2 separate regions of the Homo sapiens genome follow, and region 1 is linked to region 2. Evidence: promoter capture Hi-C in human tissues and cell types (Jung and others, 2019). All regions are on one chromosome and are shown on one strand. The core of a region is centred on a gene start or on the middle of the fragment in contact, and the rest is flanking DNA. Distances in the headings are between cores, read along the strand shown.

Region 1 (4,023 bases), core at 1,437-3,936, 330 kb after region 2:
TCCACGTAGATATCCAGGATTACGACAAAGAAGATAAGCATTGTGGAAGCCATAAAGGGAGAAATCCAAGATTTATCTTTAACCTCAGTTGTCACAGGAAAGACAATGACCCATGGGCACAAGAGAAGCAGGAAATAAGATGGGATAAAGCTTGAAGACTTTTGGCTCCACTGATGTCTATAGAGAGCTTTCTGGGAGCTGTATGAAAACCAGCTTTACACCACAAAGCCAAGACTAGCAATAATATTCCATGCTTGTTATCTGCCATGTCTAAGAAGGCAATGGTTGTGTAAAGCATGTAAGTTAGAGCCCTGAACTACCCTAATTAAATGGGGTGTTCAGCCGTTTTAGCCTTGAGATCATCACTGTCAAAAAACAGCAATAAATAGATGACAGCAATAATGAAGAAAGCAGTCCCCTGTATTGAAGTTCTGCTCTGTGTTACAAAAAGAGCTTGGTTTATGGCTGTATTTCTTAGAGATGAGAGACAAAATATACAGACAATGGCCAGACCACATATAAAAACAGAACTCTGACCCATAACCTACAGCAGCCTGCCTAGGAAATCAACCCACTTTTCTACAATAAACAGCCCAGGAAGCCACTTGCTGTAAGTCACACTTGTAGGAAGTCAGACTTTCTCTGGTAACAATCCAGGAAACTAAACAGTAACTCCAGTAACAGTCAGCTCCAAATGGCCAGGACTTTATTAATAACTGACAACTTCCCAAATTTTTGTTCCTGTTTCTAACTTAGGAGCAACGTAGGAAAGCCAAATACGTACCCTAAACCAATCCCATAGGATGCTGTGCATCTAGTTAGCTATCCTCAGCTTCCCCATGCCAACAGCCTCCAATCAGGGAACATGCGAAAAAAAGGGTGATACCTTTTCCACTATAAAGCTTTCCTACTCCTCTGCTGGTCTTTGAGTCTCTCCCAAAATGGAAGTGATGGTGGCTGACTTCTTTGTTGTAGAATAGATAGCCTTTACTTTCTTATTTGGTTAGTCTTTGTTTTCACAGAAGTTATTGGCGAACTCCATTTATTAAAGTCATGGGTGCTGATATGGTTTGGCTCTGTGTCCCCACCCAAATCTTACCTTGAATTACCCCACATGTTAGGGAGGGACATGGTGGGAGGTGATTGGATCATGGGGGCAGTTTCCCTCATTCTTTTCTCGTGATAGTGAGTGAGTTCTCCTGAGATCTGATGGTTAAAAAGTGTGGCACTTTCTCCTTCTCTCTCTCCTGCCACCATGTAAGATACGCCTTGGTTCCCCTTTGCCTTCTGCCATGATTTTAAATTTCCAGAGACCTTCCCAGCCAAGCGGAACTGTGAGCCAATTAAACCACTTTTCTTTATAAATTACCCAGTCTCAGGCAGCTCTTCATAGCAGTGTGAAAATTGACTAATACAGGTGCTTTTTGAAAATGCAGTTTCCTGGACTCCCCACAGGTTTACAGAATCAGAATCTCTGGGAGTAAGGCCCAGAAATTTGCATTTTCATCCATAGCCCTAGTGGCTCTCATGCATACTAATATTGAGGACCAGTGTCCTAGAATATTTGGTGATTATCTTTCTCTGGCATTTGTATCACACCTATGTTCATCCATAGCCCTAGTGACTCTTGTGCATGCTAATATTGAGGACCAGTGTCCTAGAATATTTGGTGATTATCTTTCTCTGGTTTTCGTATCACAACTATGTTATGTGTATGAAATACCTAACTATCCCCACTTGTGTGTTTCAAAAGGTCCTTTTGCCTACAGGAGCAGGCTAAATCTCATGACATTCCCCACACTCAATCCTCACCCAGAATTCCTGAGCTCTGGGGAAGGTGCCATCTCCAGCCTGGTTTGCAAGCCAGAAACACAGGCTCTCTCTTACAGGGAAAATGAAAATACATTTTAAAAATGTGAATAACCCCCAAAATATCAGGTAAGGCACATAAAACAAAAATAAGGCGGCGTCAGTAGAAAACACAAGACAAAATGAAATGCAGCGAATCACTGGAAATGTTGAGGGAAGTAGCAGTTCTGGGTCAGGGGAGGCAGAAACAGCTACAGCTTGGGAGCTGTGGCCAGTGTGTTCTCTGAGAGGTAGCTATGCAGACCCAAGCTAACAGCCAACCCCAGAAACCTCAGCCTGATTCAGATTCACCTCAGGGTGAATCTGGTGACTCAGCCTGAGTGGGAGCAGTTTCACTACCCGACTCTCTGTGTAATTTAATCTTGTGTTTGCAGCCAATACCTAGCCAATACAGAAAATTAATGTATGGGAGGAGGCCAGCTGCTCTTGACATGGAAAGTTCAGATTATTTTCAAGCTTCAAGAAGGGAACCAGCGACAGGGATAAATGAATGAGTAGAGCCACTTACCAGCAAAAAGCGTTGGAATTTTTTCTATACCACTCCAGCCCCTCATTGCAGGGCTGCTGTAGAGAACTGATGTCCCCAGTTCTGCCCATCTCAGGTATACTCCAGGAGGCTCGCCGGCTGACAGCTTCCTTGCTCTGCCGCCTGTGTGAAGGGGCTGCCACTCTCTGTTCTCAGGTCTTGGTGACTGATGATGGGTCCATTTTTCCTTTTGTTGATGTTATAAGTGGGACTGTTAATTCTATTTTTGGATTGTTCATTTCCCAATCTTTTTTTTTATTATTATACTTTAAGTTCTAGGGTACATGTGCACAACATGCAGGTTTGTTACATATGTATACATGTGCCATGTTGGTGTGCTGCACCCATTAACTCGTAATTTACATTAGGTATATCTCCTCATTTCCCAGTCTTTTAAGACATACCAAATAATTTTCTCTGTGAGTGTGAGCTTACAGAAAAGAGCTCTCGTTGTCTTTCTGGCAGCAACACCGTTGATAATGCATTGCTGGCAATATCTACTTGTGGTTTTCTGTAAAAATGCTGTGAGTTTAAGGACATTTACCTAATAGTCTGACTGGGAAATCCTAGATTTTAGTAATTAAAAAAATACATTGCTTTGCCTCTAGCAAATAAGAACAATGTCTCTTTGCTGATTCAGATATATTGAATCTTTCCAAAGCATTTGCTTTAGTTAAAGCAATTTTTGATTAGTATTATTCTAATTAGAACAATTTTTAAATTTTTACAGATGAGGTTTCACTCTGTTGCACAGGCTAGTCTCGAAATTCTGGCCCCAAGGAATCCTCCTACCTCAGCCTCCTGGGTTGTGGGGATTACATGTGCTTGCTACTGAAGCGGGCCAATTAGTATTTTTTTAATGGACAAGTTATAATTGTGTGCATTTATTTGATACAATGTGATGTTCTAATTCATGTAACGGAGTTCTGGGAAAGTCATACCAACCTACAGTGGTACCTTTGTGGAAAGATTAAATCAAGCTAATTAACATACCCATTACCTTGCTTATTATTTTTAGTTTTAATAGAGCCAGTAAATCTTTTCACACTCGAATTTAACTTATATTAAATTATTTATATTGTACAACTTACACAAGTTAAATTAATTAACTTGTTTATCTTATATTAAATTAGGCAATTATAATAACTAGTAAAAATTTTATATACTGGTTTGGCATAAACTTAATTGATTGGAGTAAAAGTAGGCAAGGATTTGATTCTAAAATGAAGCCTTAAAATCTTGAGCTTTATTTTGACTATTTTTTTCTCATTATGTAAGGTACTTTATTATTTATTTTTAAAATAATTTTAAGCTTTAATTGAGCTAAGCCTATTCAGTAAGTTTTTCAGTATACCTAGAGAATAAAGGTTAATTGAGGCTGCAGTTAGGAAGATTTCTCTCTTTTTAAATTTTTATATTTTGTAGATATTTTGTAGGTATGAGGTGTCACTATGTTGCCCAGGCTGGTCTTGAACTCCTGGCCTCAAGTGATCATTTTACTTCTGCCTCTCAAAGTGCTAGGATTACAGGTGTGAGTCATTGCACCAGGCCAAGAAGAATTCTCTTAAAAGTCAATTTTTTTTTCTGATTGAATTGGTGGTTTCCAGTCCCTTCTTTTTTGTTGTTTT
Region 2 (4,165 bases), core at 510-3,009:
GGGTTCCGGGGGGTTCCGGGAGAGTGGGCCAGCAGGGACGAACCAGCCAGGGCTGAGGACGGGGGAGGGAGGAGAGAGCCAAGACATTGAGCCCTTTTAAGGCAGCAGGAACCCTGGCCCCCTCCCCCGCCCCAGGCCTGGCAGGGGAGGGGCCGCGAGATGCAGCTCGGGCCACAAAAGGAGTGCTCCTCCCGGGAGCGCCAGACCCCTACCCCACCCGGTCTCAGTTTACCCTGCCAACCCAACTTCATCCTCTACTAAAGGGAGGCCAGGAGAGTCATTAGGGGCTGTGGGAGGTTGGGAGAAGGTTTTTCCAGAGGCTGAATGGCCTGGCCCTTCTTGGCCTCCACCTTCCCATCTGTGAAATGGGAGGAGGAGGGAAAGGAACCAGGCCTGGGTCAGAAAGAGATGGACACAAGAGGAAGCAGGGGAAGGCGGAGAAACAGGAAACAAGTGTCACACACAGTTTGTTACACACAGGCCAAAAACCAAACACCAGTCACTGAGGGCCAGACATATGAGGGCCAGAGGGGCAGGGTGCTGGGAATGAAAGAAACCAGTGACCAGTGAGCCCGAGTCCTGGGCTTGGGGAGGAGGTGGGCAGACAAGGCAGCTGGCAGAAGCGGAAGCATCCTCCTTCCAGCCCTGGCCCCAGGCCCTGGAAAGCCCTTGCAAGAAGGGGTTTTGTGGGACAGCTGGAAGGTTGGAGGCCCTGGGCCAGGAGAACTAAAGGACGCAGGGACCCGGGGTGGCGGGAATGGTGGCTGACCCACACGGCTCATAGGAACCGAGACTTTGGGGCTGGGGGTGGGGGTGGGTGCAGAACCTACAAAAGAAGGAGACACACCCAGAAGAACCCAAAGTTGTCCCTCCTGGATCGCAGAGGAGGGGGCACTGGTGGCGCCTGTCTGCAAAGCTGGTTCTCCCACAGGGCCCGCGTGAGTCACCGCCCTCCCAGTGCCTGGGCACCTGTTGGGGCAGCTGGAGAGGCTGGCGCCGAACACCTGCCTGTCGGCTGCGCCCCTGGCAGCTGCCCCATGCTGGCCCTCCTGGCTTGCCCCAGGCCACAGGAAACCAGGGGAGAGGGCCATAGAGCCCACTTTTGGGGGGAGGGTCCTAGGAGAGGGAGCTCCCAGCATGACCCTGACCCTGACCCTGAGGCGGGGTGCAGAGAGGCCATGGGAGGCTGTTGGCAGCCTAGCCTGCTGTGACTCCTAAGCCATGGCTCTGAGTCACAGCCACCCTAGCCTCTGCTGACCTTACTCTGCCCCTCCAGAGTGGTGGCATAGGACAGAGAAATGTTGCCCCAGGGCCCAGGTCCACACTCTGAGCCCCAGGATGGGAGGATCTCCCCATGCCCATCCTGCCATCCTGCCCCCCCAACAGCCAGGCCTCTGTGCCCAGACCTGTCTCCTGCCCCACCCCCACCCCATCTGCAGGAGCCCCGAGGGTAGGCACTCACCCCACTGCAAGAAGTCGGCCACGTACTTGTCCTGGGCCAGTTCGGAGGCGCCCAGCTCCTGGTGGACGCCCAGGAGAAGGTCGAGCAGGGGCTCCAGCCCCAGGAAGCCCGGGTCCAACACCAGCTGCTGGAGCCGCCTCAGCCGCACCTCGGCTGACATGTTGGACAGGCAGCACCATGGCCCCTCCCCGGGCCGGGGGCTCGGGGTCCTCCTGTCACAGGGCCTGGCAGCCCCTGTCCAGGCCCTGGAGCCCTGGCTGCATGTCTGCCTGTCCCTGGCTGTCCCCTGGGCCTCTCTGGCCACTTCTCTCTGCGGCCGGCCGAGGCCTCCTCCCCTTCTCCCCACCCCTTGGTCCAGCCCCCCTCCCGCCTCCCAGCCTTAACCCCTCACAAGCCAGCCCCCCAAGCTCCCTCCTTCCAGGGCCCTTCAGAACCCTTCAGTGCTAGAGTAGGGGGAATGCATGGAGAATCTCAGCTGTCACACTGTCACCCCAATAAAAAGGTAGAGCACAGAGGAAGCCACAGGTGTGATGAATTTCAAGAAGAACCTGCCCATTGCTGAAACAGGGCCAATTGAGGCTGAGTGACCCAGTAGCAACCACCCCCTTGCTCCCGACAAGCTCCAGAACTGGGGGCTAGGGGGTGAGGGCTGGGGGTTGGGGCTGGGTGGGAGAAAGGGGTTGAGGCCTGGGAAGGGGACGGGAGGCCAGGGCAGCTTCTTGGGTGACTCAGAGATGGATTCCGACTCGGACAGTTAAATTTAGCCCTCAGGCTCTCTGCTTTATACCAGCTTTTTTTTTTTTTTTTTTTTTTTTTCCCAGGAGGTGGGGAAGGGGTGGTGAGGACAGGACCAGGAGGGGGCACCCTCAGAGCCTGAACAGGGGTGACCTGCTGCCCAAAGGCTGGGGGAGGAAAGTGGTGGAGCCAAGCCCTCCCTGGGCAAACGAGACCCCAAAATAGCTCCTTGGCCCCTGGCCGGGGAGCCACATTCCTGCCCAGGCTGGGATTAGAAACAGAAACATTTCGGGGGGTGGAGGGTGGCGCGGGAAGACACACTCCCTGCGGCTCCGAGAGCCAAGAGGAATCTGAGCTCTTCTTTCCAGGGTGGACGGTTCTCCAGAGTGGAAGTCGGGGCCTCCAACCGGCCTGGGGTGCCTGGGCCTTGAGAGGGCCAGGCCTGAGAAACTAGGAGGCAAGGACCGAGGAGTCCCAGCTGGGCAGGGCCTGGGAAACGTGGTCCTGGGCAGTTCTGATAATTTAAAAAACACCGAGGACTTTGATGAGGGGCCCTGGCTGCGGGCAGGATGCTCTTCTCCCCAAGAGGGTCCTGCTCCAGCCGCTGGTGTGGGTCACCAGTTGTGTGACTCGCAGGTCCGTTCCCTCCCTGGGCTCCGGCTTTTCCTGCTATGAAAAGGGGTGGGAGGCGCTGGGCTGGGAGCAGGCCTGCACTCCTCCTCTGGGGAAAGCGGACTGCCTAGAACCACAGAGTACACACACAGGTCCTCTACATCATCTCCTCCGAAGGGGACAGACCCGCTGAGAAAACAGGGAACTTTAGTATAAATAAGAGGTCCTGCGGGACAGGGAGGAACCTGAGGGGCTTCCATAATTTAACACTCTTCAAAAGCACAGACAATAGCAAGGGCAGCTGGGGTGGGGGCCGGGCGAGGGCTGGACCACCCCCGGCCCTGCCCACTCAACTGAGGGGCACACTGCAGACCTGGGGCTCTTGTGGCAGGGGCGGGGAGTCTCTCCCCAGGAGTGACCAGTCACATGCTGGGGACAGGGATGAGGGTAACACTGATGTTTCAGAGGAAGAGGTCATTGTACTTGGCAGTGGGTGGGGGACAAGGCTGAGGCCACAAGGGCTATTACATCGCCCGTGTCCGGGCCAGTCTGGGGGGCCCCCAAATTTTGTGCAGGTGGGGGGACTGGAGCAGTCCATCCATCATGGTTAGTCTTGTTAATACGTTGATCTGTGAGGTCAGCAGGGAGGGTTATGGCTAGGAGGCTGGGGGCATGGGGTTGGGGGGGCCCGATATCCATGGCTTCACACCACTGTGCCACTCGGGGAGTTGCCTGGTTGGGAGGAGATGCCCTGGGGAAGATGAGAGGGAGAGATGGGAGGGGTTAGAGACCACCTGGGCTTCAGCCAGTGTCAAGGGGAGGGAGCCAGCCCAGAGTCCCCAAAGCTGCTGCCACCCTGGCCTTGCCCTTGGGTCCGCCCTAGACCCCCCAGAGGCCACTGCTCTAGGCTGGGAACTTGCATCTTAGCTAGCTTCCTGTCCTGGCAGTCAGCACTTTCACGCAATAATCAAAGTCCTTGGCGGATCCTGAGTGAGACCATGGGGTAAGGGTAAGGGTGGGAGGGGAGGGGGAAACTGGAGCTCCCTTCTAACTTGGGAGGGACCCTGAGGTGCTGGGGAAAGAACTCAGGGACAGTCCTACCTCTACCACTGACTTGCTGGGTGACCTGGGCCAACTTCCTTCCCCTGTCTGGGCCTCGGTCTCCTCGTCTGTGAACTACGGAGACAGAGGGGTCTCTTTTAGGACTCAACCAGACTCCCCAAATCCCACCACTCTTGCCTCTGAGTCACTCAGACTGTGCTCTCAAGTTCTAGGGACTCAGGACTCTACGATTCCAAAACTGAGGATCTGAGGAACCAAGCCACGGCCTCCAGGACCCTGGGCAACTGAGTCCAA

What was found. Contacts are between HindIII fragments. The study calls those that stand out against the background at their distance.
Region 1: a fragment that was not itself captured here is called in contact with the fragment with the promoter of DMPK in region 2 in 1 of the 25 tissues and cell types used here (lymphoblastoid cells).

The regions. Positions count from the first base shown.
Region 1 is chr19:46,113,439-46,117,461 of GRCh38, forward strand. It overlaps a transcript of IGFL2 not described here and the pseudogene LOC100533846. Among named protein-coding and RNA genes, the nearest start is that of IGFL3, 9.2 kb to the right of the region's middle. The HindIII fragment of the contact is 4,320 bases long and covers 527-4,023 here.
Region 2 is chr19:45,780,731-45,784,895 of GRCh38, forward strand. DMPK (DM1 protein kinase) reads right to left here and starts at 1,760. Exons shown (of 15, transcript NM_004409.5): 1 at 1,463-1,760. The coding sequence starts at 1,622. It overlaps DMWD (DM1 locus, WD repeat containing), which reads right to left. Exons shown (of 5, transcript NM_004943.2): 4 at 3,911-3,985; 5 at 2,217-3,560. The coding sequence ends at 3,513. The HindIII fragment of the contact is 9,498 bases long and covers 1-3,026 here.